3 separate regions of the Homo sapiens genome follow, and all the other regions are linked to region 3. Evidence: promoter capture Hi-C in human tissues and cell types (Jung and others, 2019). All regions are on one chromosome and are shown on one strand. Each heading gives the region's core, a stretch centred on a gene start or on the middle of the fragment in contact. The rest is flanking DNA. Distances are from core to core; before and after follow the strand shown.

Evidence for each region. Contacts are between HindIII fragments. The study calls those that stand out against the background at their distance.
Region 1: the fragment with the promoter of ZNF708 here is called in contact with the fragment with the promoter of ZNF66 in region 3 in 3 of the 25 tissues and cell types used here (heart right ventricle, spleen and stomach).
Region 2: a fragment that was not itself captured here is called in contact with the fragment with the promoter of ZNF66 in region 3 in 1 of the 25 tissues and cell types used here (pancreas).

The regions. Positions count from the first base shown.
Region 1 is chr19:21,327,972-21,330,671 of GRCh38, forward strand. It overlaps ZNF708 (zinc finger protein 708), which reads right to left and starts at 1,439. Exons shown (of 4, transcript NM_021269.3): 1 at 1,239-1,439. The coding sequence starts at 1,241. RefSeq lists enhancers at 992-1,191, 1,232-1,411, 1,296-2,284 and a silencer at 1,531-1,752. The HindIII fragment of the contact is 12,621 bases long and covers 1-2,700 here.
Region 2 is chr19:21,400,916-21,403,615 of GRCh38, forward strand. All of the region lies in intron 1 of ZNF493 (zinc finger protein 493), which reads left to right. Among named protein-coding and RNA genes, the nearest start is that of ZNF493, 5.1 kb to the left of the region's middle. The HindIII fragment of the contact is 764 bases long and covers 873-1,636 here.
Region 3 is chr19:20,774,986-20,777,685 of GRCh38, forward strand. It overlaps ZNF66 (zinc finger protein 66), which reads left to right and starts at 1,319. Exons shown (of 4, transcript NM_001355197.2): 1 at 1,319-1,465. The coding sequence starts at 1,463. The HindIII fragment of the contact is 10,177 bases long and covers 1-2,700 here.

The DNA of each region.
Region 1 (2,700 bases), core at 189-2,688, 550 kb after region 3:
TCAGGGAGAAAAATGACCCAGGAGCTGATATTCACTAGACACTCTAGCAGAAAAAGTCATGATGTGTATCTTGGTTTACTCCAGACAGTACTGAAACCCAGGACCAGGAAAAAACTGAAGGGTGGCTGAAGACACATCACTCCGTAAAGTTTCCAAAGAAAAACCTTCACCTGAAAACAAACATTCTGATAAGATTTCTGTGCCTGAGGAAGATAAAAAAAAAAAAGCCATAGAAATTTCATAAAATACAGTGTCAGGGAATTATTTTTTGCTTTCTTCTCATGAGAAATATTTTCAACCAGAAAACAATTTTAAGTGCCATCCAATGCTTTGTCAAAAAATGATTAACTAAAATACAGTATCAAAAATGTACACTAAAGGAAAAACAGTTGAGAATGTGAATTAGGAAAGGCAAGCTGGCATTTGGAAATGTCAGAAGGAACTAGAAATTTAGTATTTTAGTTTATTTGCAGTTTAAATCTAACTGCAGGCCAGAGTTAGGCTGGAGGAATGGGGCTGGGAGGTACACTTGAGACCCCGCTTGGAACGCATGTGAAAAATGCAGGGGAAAATCAGTCCCCTGTGGAGTGTGAGAATAATTAAGTGGCAGGCAATTACACTGAGGAGGCTCTAGTCCCCGGCTTTCTACTTAACAGCAACAGCTACGTAAATGTACCTAACCGATTATTAAATATAGTTTTCTTCATCATGCACCTTATAAAAAGTCTTTCCTTCAAGCTCCTCCCATGAACCACAAACTACAAAACATACTTTTGTGCTCTACAATTATTGAATCACTCTTTGATTAAATTCTTTAATATTTTTTGCGATGACTGCCACAGATTTTTAATAGGAGAAAATAGGAACCGGGAACCCCACAGACCAAAGCTCTTCCCATTCATGAACCCGACCCCAAGTCAGGATTCTCCCCTGACCACCCTCCCATGGTCCCTGCACAATCTGGGAGAGGCGCGGCGCTGCCGGTGCAGAGCCGCCCAGAGAGGGCTGCAGGCCAGGGCACAGTCACTGCGCAGGGAAGAGACAGGACGCCCGGGGGCCCGGCTGTCGGCGCAGCCGCCATCTTATGGCTGAAGGGGACTGAGGCCGAGCTAGGCAAGGAGAACTCGGAGCGCAGATTGTGGAGATGACTGCGGGGAGTCCTGAGTCCCGCCACAGCCACTTCCCACAGGTTTCAACCAGCCCTTCCCCTCTCTCGGGATGTCGGACGGCACTCTCACCATTTCTAGGCTTCCAGAGGGTCCTGGAGTCTTAGCTGTGGATCTCCCAATACCTGCAGGTCACAGAGCCACAGAGTCTGGGCCTCTAGGAGCAGAGGACAAACAGCAGTGAAGACGAGACCGGAGCTCCGGCTGCAGCAAGAGACAAAGGCCGCGCCAAACCCGGAAGCCGCCCTGTCCGGTCCAGCTGCGTGTCTGAGTGAACTGTCCCCAGCTCAGAGTCCCTGATTGGATAATGTTAAAACCCGCCCCTTCAGGCCCTGAGGGACGGAAGATGTGATCAGATGCTGGGCTGAATGAAGTGTGACAGCCTATGCTGCAGCCTTTTCAGGCAAGGCTTCCTCCCTGAGCTGAGCCAGGCCCACCCGAGAGGGTGTTTGCCTTTAATCTTGTGTATAAGGTCATATGCCCTTATAAATAATATGCTATATGGCTATTCACAAATGAAAAGAATATAATAACCCAATTGTTCTAAAAAAAATTTTTTTTTTGAGATTGAGTTTCACTCTTGTTGCCCAGGCTGGAGTGCAATGGCGCGATCTTGGCTCATCGCAACCTCCACCTCGCGGGTTCAAGCGATTCTCCTGCCTCAGCCTCCCGCGTAGCTGAGATTACAGGCATGCGCCACCATGCCCGGCTAATTTTTTTGTATTTTTAGTAGAGACGGGGTTTCTCCATGTTGGTCAGGCTGGTCTCAAACTCCAGACCTCAGGTGATCCTCCCGCCTCGGCCTCCCAAAATGCTGGGATTACAGGCATGAGCCACTGCGCCCGGCCCAACTGTTCTAAAATTTTATATTTTGTGACCTTCCTGACTTCTGGTCCTTTGAGCAGGCAGCCTGAGATTTTAAAAAGGAGGCAATTCTCTGAAATAAAATGTGAGCCACAAGTTGGGCGCTGTACCTCACGCCTGTAATCCCAGTACTTCGGGAGGCCGAAGAGGGTGGATCATCTGAGGTTCAGAGTTCGAGATCAGTCTGGCCAACATGGTGAAACCCCGTCTCTAAAACAATACAAAAAAATTAGCTGGGCATGGTGGCAGGCGCCTGTAATCCCAGCTACTTGGGAGGCTGGGGCAGGAGAATCGCTTGATCCTGGGCGGTGGAGGTTGCAGTGAGACGAGATCACGCCACTGCACTCCAGTATGGACAACAAGAGTGAAACTCTGTCTCAAAAAAAATAAATAAATAAAATAAAATCATAAAATGTGAGCCACATGTAAATTTTAAATTTTCTAGTAGCCAAACTTTATTTTATATTTTTATTTTTTTAGACGGAGTCTCACATTGTTGCCTGGGCTGGAGTGCAATGGCGCGATTTCTGCTCACTGCAACCTCTGCCTCCCGGGTTCAAGCGATTCTCCTGCCTCAGCCTCCCAAGTAGCTGAGATAAAAGGCGCTGGCCACCATGCCCGGCTAATTTGTAGCCAAACTTTAAAAAGAGTTTAGCTCTATTTTTAAAAA
Region 2 (2,700 bases), core at 5-2,504, 630 kb after region 3:
TTCCTCTCTTCCTGTCTGAATGCCTTTTATTTCTCTCTCTTCCCTGATTGTTCTGGCCGAGACTTTGAATTCTATGTTGAACAAGAGTTTTGAGAAAAAGCATTCTTTTCTTGTGCCAGTTTTCATGAAGGAATGCTTCCAGCTTGTGTTCATTTTGTATGTTGGCTGTAAGTTTGTCATACTTAGATAACTCAGTATTTTGATGTATGTACCTCCAATGCCTAGTTTTTTGAAAGTTTTAAACATGAAGGATGGTAAATTTCATTGCAAGCTTTTTTAACATCTACTGAAATAACCCTGTGGTTTTTGTCTTTAGTTCTGTTTACTTGAGGAGTAACATTTATTAATTGCATGTTGAACCAACCTTTTATTTCAGAGATACAGCCAAGTTGATCGTAGTGGATTAGCTTTTTGATGTTCTCCTGGATTTGGTTTTCCAGTATTTTCTTGAGGATATTTTCATCAATGTTCATTAAAAATATTGGCCTCAAGGTTTCTATTTTTTTGTTTTATATTTGCCAAATTTTCATATTAGAATAATGCTGTTTTTACATAATGGGTTGGAAAGAAGTCCCTTTTTCTCAGTATTTTGAAATAATCTTAGTAGGAGTGGTACCAGCTCTTACTTTACATCTGGTAGAATTCAGCTGTAAATTTGTGTGGTTCTTTGTTTTATTTTTGGTGGGCAGGCTATTTATTTATTTATTTATTTTATTTTATTTTATTTTTTGAGACAGTCTCACTCTGTCGCCCAGGCTGGAGTGCAGTGGCACAGTCTCAGCTCACTGCAACCTCCACCTCCTGAGTTTAAGCAATGCTCTGCTTCAGCCACCTGAGTAGCTGGAATTACAAGTGTGCACCACCACACCCAGCTAATTTTTGTATTTTTAGTAGAGATGGGGTTTCACCATGTTGGCCAGGCTGTTCGCTGTTCTTGAACTTCTGACCTCGTGATCCACTCGCCTCGGCCTCCCAAAGTGCTAGGATTACAGGAGTGAGCCACCATGCCCGGTCAGCTATTTATTTATCTACTTATTTATTTATTTCATTTTATTTATTTATTTATTTTTGAGATGGAGTCTCGCTCTGTCACCCAGGCTGGAGTGCAGTGGCACGATCTCGGCTCACTGCAACCTCCACCTCATGGGTTCATGCCATTCTCCTGCCTCAGCCTCCCGAGTAGCTGGGACTACAGGCACCCGCCATCACGACCGGCTAATTTTTTGTATTTTTAGTAGAGATGGGGTTTCGCTGTGTTAGCCAGGCTGGTCTCGATCTCCTGACCTTGTGATCCACCTGCCTTGGCCTCCCAAAGTGCTGGGGTTACAGGCATGAGCCACCATGCCTGGCCCTGGCCAGCTATTTATTACTAATTCAATTTTGGAGCTTGTTACTGGTCTATTCAGGGATTCAATTTCTTATTTGTTCAGTCTTTGCAGGATGTATCATTGTTCCAAGGTTATAATCCTCAAGCTTGGCCCTGACGAACTCTCTAATTATATTCATGTTTCCTCAGTTTTTTCCTTTTAGGTAGACATATTAATAGAATGGGCTAGAGGAGCCTCTATGAAGGGATCTCTCCTTTGATTGTACTCTGCTTGCTGTAACACCCAAGAATGCAGAGTCAGGCTAACCCCACTTAGAATCTGCACATAGGGTCAGGCCTCTGCCTGGGATTTACAAGACAGGGCCAGACTTTCAATTGTGAATGTAATGAAAACCAACAAAATGCATTTTCTGCATTGTGAGATGTCAACATAGACATCTTAAAGCCCCCCTTTGAGAGTGTGGCTTTTTAAGCTTTTCAGATCTTGTTTAGTGACCTGCTACAGTTATATGAGAGGCTCCAGGTATAAATAGAATCTGATGACAGAATCTATAAGTGTAAACAAGCATCTTAAGAGTGAGGGATAAGGCCACAAAGTATCCAGAGCTATGACCACAACTATACCTACCTGTAAATTGTAATAATGGAGTAGAGTATTCTTGTCCTTCTTACCCAAAAGCTAGCACATCAGGATAGGTGATCCAGGTTCTGGAGTTCCACCAAAGCAGTTCCATTTTCTATTTAGAATCAGCATGAATCTCTCTCAGCCTGGCTTATCACTGGGCCATCAGCCTTGAGTCACTGAGAACCGTCTCACAATCACCTAGGTGTCTTTAAGACATTTGAGGATGTCAGGGACAGAATTGTGTCGGGATTACATGGCCAATTTGCAGAAATCTCTTTACTTGTGCTCTCTCCACAGGTTCTGTGTATTGTTCTAGGTGAAAGTATTCATGTTTTAATTGTGTCTCATGTGACTCTTAAGGTGAGGACAGAATTAAGTGTGTGGGGTTCAAGATAGATTCATGAGAGTTAAGTTTCACCTTTGCACTAAAAGGTGGTCACAGGAACTGTTCCGTTTGGTTTTGATAGGAAGAGGTCAGTGTCACCCATATTTTCATTACTATAGCAGAAATTGCTGGTGTTTGTGGCAAGGGCAGGCACATGAAGACAAATAGAGAAACATATTTTTATATTCATTGAGCAGCTCATTGTTCCTGAATCTCTCCTGTTATAAAGGACAAAAGTGAGTGGGCTTTTTCTGCAGTTCTTCTTTTTTTCTGTGGTTGTGAGGCTAGCAGGTAAATAGGTGGTGCTGACTTCTTTACAAGAATTTTCTCAGGATGCAGGTGTAACTTCTCCAGAGAATGTCA
Region 3 (2,700 bases), core at 69-2,568:
AAGCAAATTGCAGTAAGAAGAGGAGATGGGAAAAGATATATATATATATTTACCCTCACTAGACTATGGAGGATTACCAACTGAGTAGGAAGAAACAGCCCAGGCTCCAGAGTCGGCCACCCATTCATGCACAGACAAGGAGTCTCATGAAGCTTCAGGGTGGTCTGGGACCCTAGCTCTTTTGTAACGAGTTGTTTGGCATAAGGCCCAGTGAGGAGGGCCATTTGGGACTTGCCTCACGGAACACAAAAGGGTCAAGTTGTTTTTGTGATTGTCTATTGTTTTTCAACAACTAATGTATAGTAATAGAATGAAATAGACATTTCTTTGATACAGCTCTGGATGAACACCTCAGGGGCTCACAACCAGGACCTGTTCTGGGACTTGGTGACCATTGTGTCCACGTTCAATTGAGTTCAAATTTAACATTTAACTTTTCCTCCATAAATTCTCCTGTCTTCATGAATTGGCTCTGTCTAGGCAAAGGGCAAAATGAACCCCTTGGGCTGTTACATAACCTCCACCTCCTGGGTTCAAGTGATTCTCCTGCCTCAGCCTCCGGAGTAGCTGGGACCACAGATGTGCACCACCATACCCAGCTAATTTTTTACATTGTGAGTAGAGATGGGGTTTCACCATGTTGGCCAGGCTAGTCTTGAACTCCTGACCTCAAGTGATCCACCCACCTTGGCCTCCCAAAGTGTTGGGATTACTGGCATGAGCTACCTGTGCCTGACCCTAAATTATTTCTATCTCTTATAGCAGTTTGAAATTACTTAAAGGTTGTTTCAAGTTGAAAAAATAAGAAGAATGTGGATAAAAATAAAATATAAATAGATAAAAAAATTACAGGGATTACAAAATATATATGTAAATCTGGAGTGGTCAAAAATGACAAATTTGATTTATTTATAAGGTTTTATTAAAATTAGCTTTAATCGTTAATACACTATTACCAAAGTAAAAGCTGATTTTCTCTTGAACAAAAATTTTATGTATTATTAATATGACAGCAAAATACTTCTGTTCACCTTTGAATACATTCAACAAGACAGAGAGTAAAAAAGAGATAAAATGTTCCCATGCTCTGGCATGGACCAGGCTCAGCTCTGGGAGGAAGCCCTGCCTGAAAAGGCTGCAGCTTAGGCTGTCACTCTTTTCTTCACTCCGCCCAGCAGCTGATCACATCTTCTGTCACTCAGTGTCTGAGGGGGCGGGACCTTAAGCATTAGCCAATCAGAGGCGCTGGGCTGGAAACCGTCCAATCAGGCACGCAGCTGGAATGAACAGGACGGCTTCCGGATTTGGCGGGGTCTTTGTCTCTCCCTGCAGCTGGAGCTCCAGGTCGTCTGTTCACTGCTCTCTGTCTTCTTCTCCTAGAGGCCCAGCCTCTGTGGCCCTGTGTCCTGCAGGTATTGGGAGATCCACAGCTAAGACGCCAGGACCCCCTGGAAGCCTAGAAATGGTGAGAGTGCCGGTCCAGCATCCCGAGAGAGGTGAAGTGTCTGTGGCGGGACTCAGGCCTCCCCTCAGTCAGCTCCACAATCTGCACCCCGAATTCTCCTTACCCAGCTCTGCCTCAGTCCCATTCAGCCATAAGATGGCGGCTACGCTGACAGCCTGGCCCCCGGGCGTCCTGTCGCTTCCCCGCGCAGTGACTGTGCCCCTGGCCTGGAGCGCTCTGTGGGCAGCTCTGCACCCGCAGTGCCGTGTCTCTCCCAGATTGTGCAGGGACCACCGGAGGGTCTTCAGGGGAGAATGCTGACTCGCGGTGCGGGTTCATGAATGGGAAGAGCTTTGGTCTGTGGGGTTCACAGTTTCTCTTTTCTGCTATTAAAATTGTATGGGGCCGGGCGCGGTCGTTCAAGCCTGTAATCCCCGCACGTTGGGAGGCCGAGGCGGGCGGATCACTTGAGGTCAGGAGTTGAAGACCAGACTGACCAAAATGGGGAAACCCCTTGTCTACTAAAAATACAAAAATTAGGTGGATATGTTGGCGAATGTCTGTAGTCCCAGCTTCTCGGGAGGCAGAAGTGAGAGAATCGCTTGAACCCGGGAGGCGGAGGTTGCAGTGAGCTGAAATCCTGCCACTGCACTCCAGCCTGGGCGACAGAGCAAGACTCTTGTCTAAAAAAAAAAAAAAAAAAAAAAAATTATGGGAGTCACTGCAAAAATATCAAACAATTTAATCAAAGAGTGATTCAAGAATTGTAGAGCACCCAGCTATAGTTTGTAGTTTGTGGTCCATGGGAGAGGCTTGAAGAAAAGACATTTATAAAATGCATGATGAGGAAAACCAAATTCAATAATTTGTTAGGTTTAGTAATGTAGTTTCTTAATTTGTACAATCAAGGTGGAAATTTCCTGGTTATGTAATTAGAGCTTAATTGGCAGTTTATAGTTGCTGAAGCCTGAATTTTGTTTCCCCTAATGTAGTAATTTGCCAAAAAATGCACTTGAGCTTAGATTTTTTTTTTTTTTTTTTTTTAGAAATAGAAATCCGGGGACTAGAGCCTCTTCAGTCTAATTGCCTGCCACTTAATTATTTTCACATCCCACAGGGGACTGACTTTCCCTGGCATTTTTCACATGTGTCCCAAGCAGGGCCTCAAGTGTCCCCCATGTTCCTCAATTAATTATTATTATTATTATTATTTTTTGAGACGGAGTCTTGCTCTGTCGCCAGGCTAGAGTGCAGTG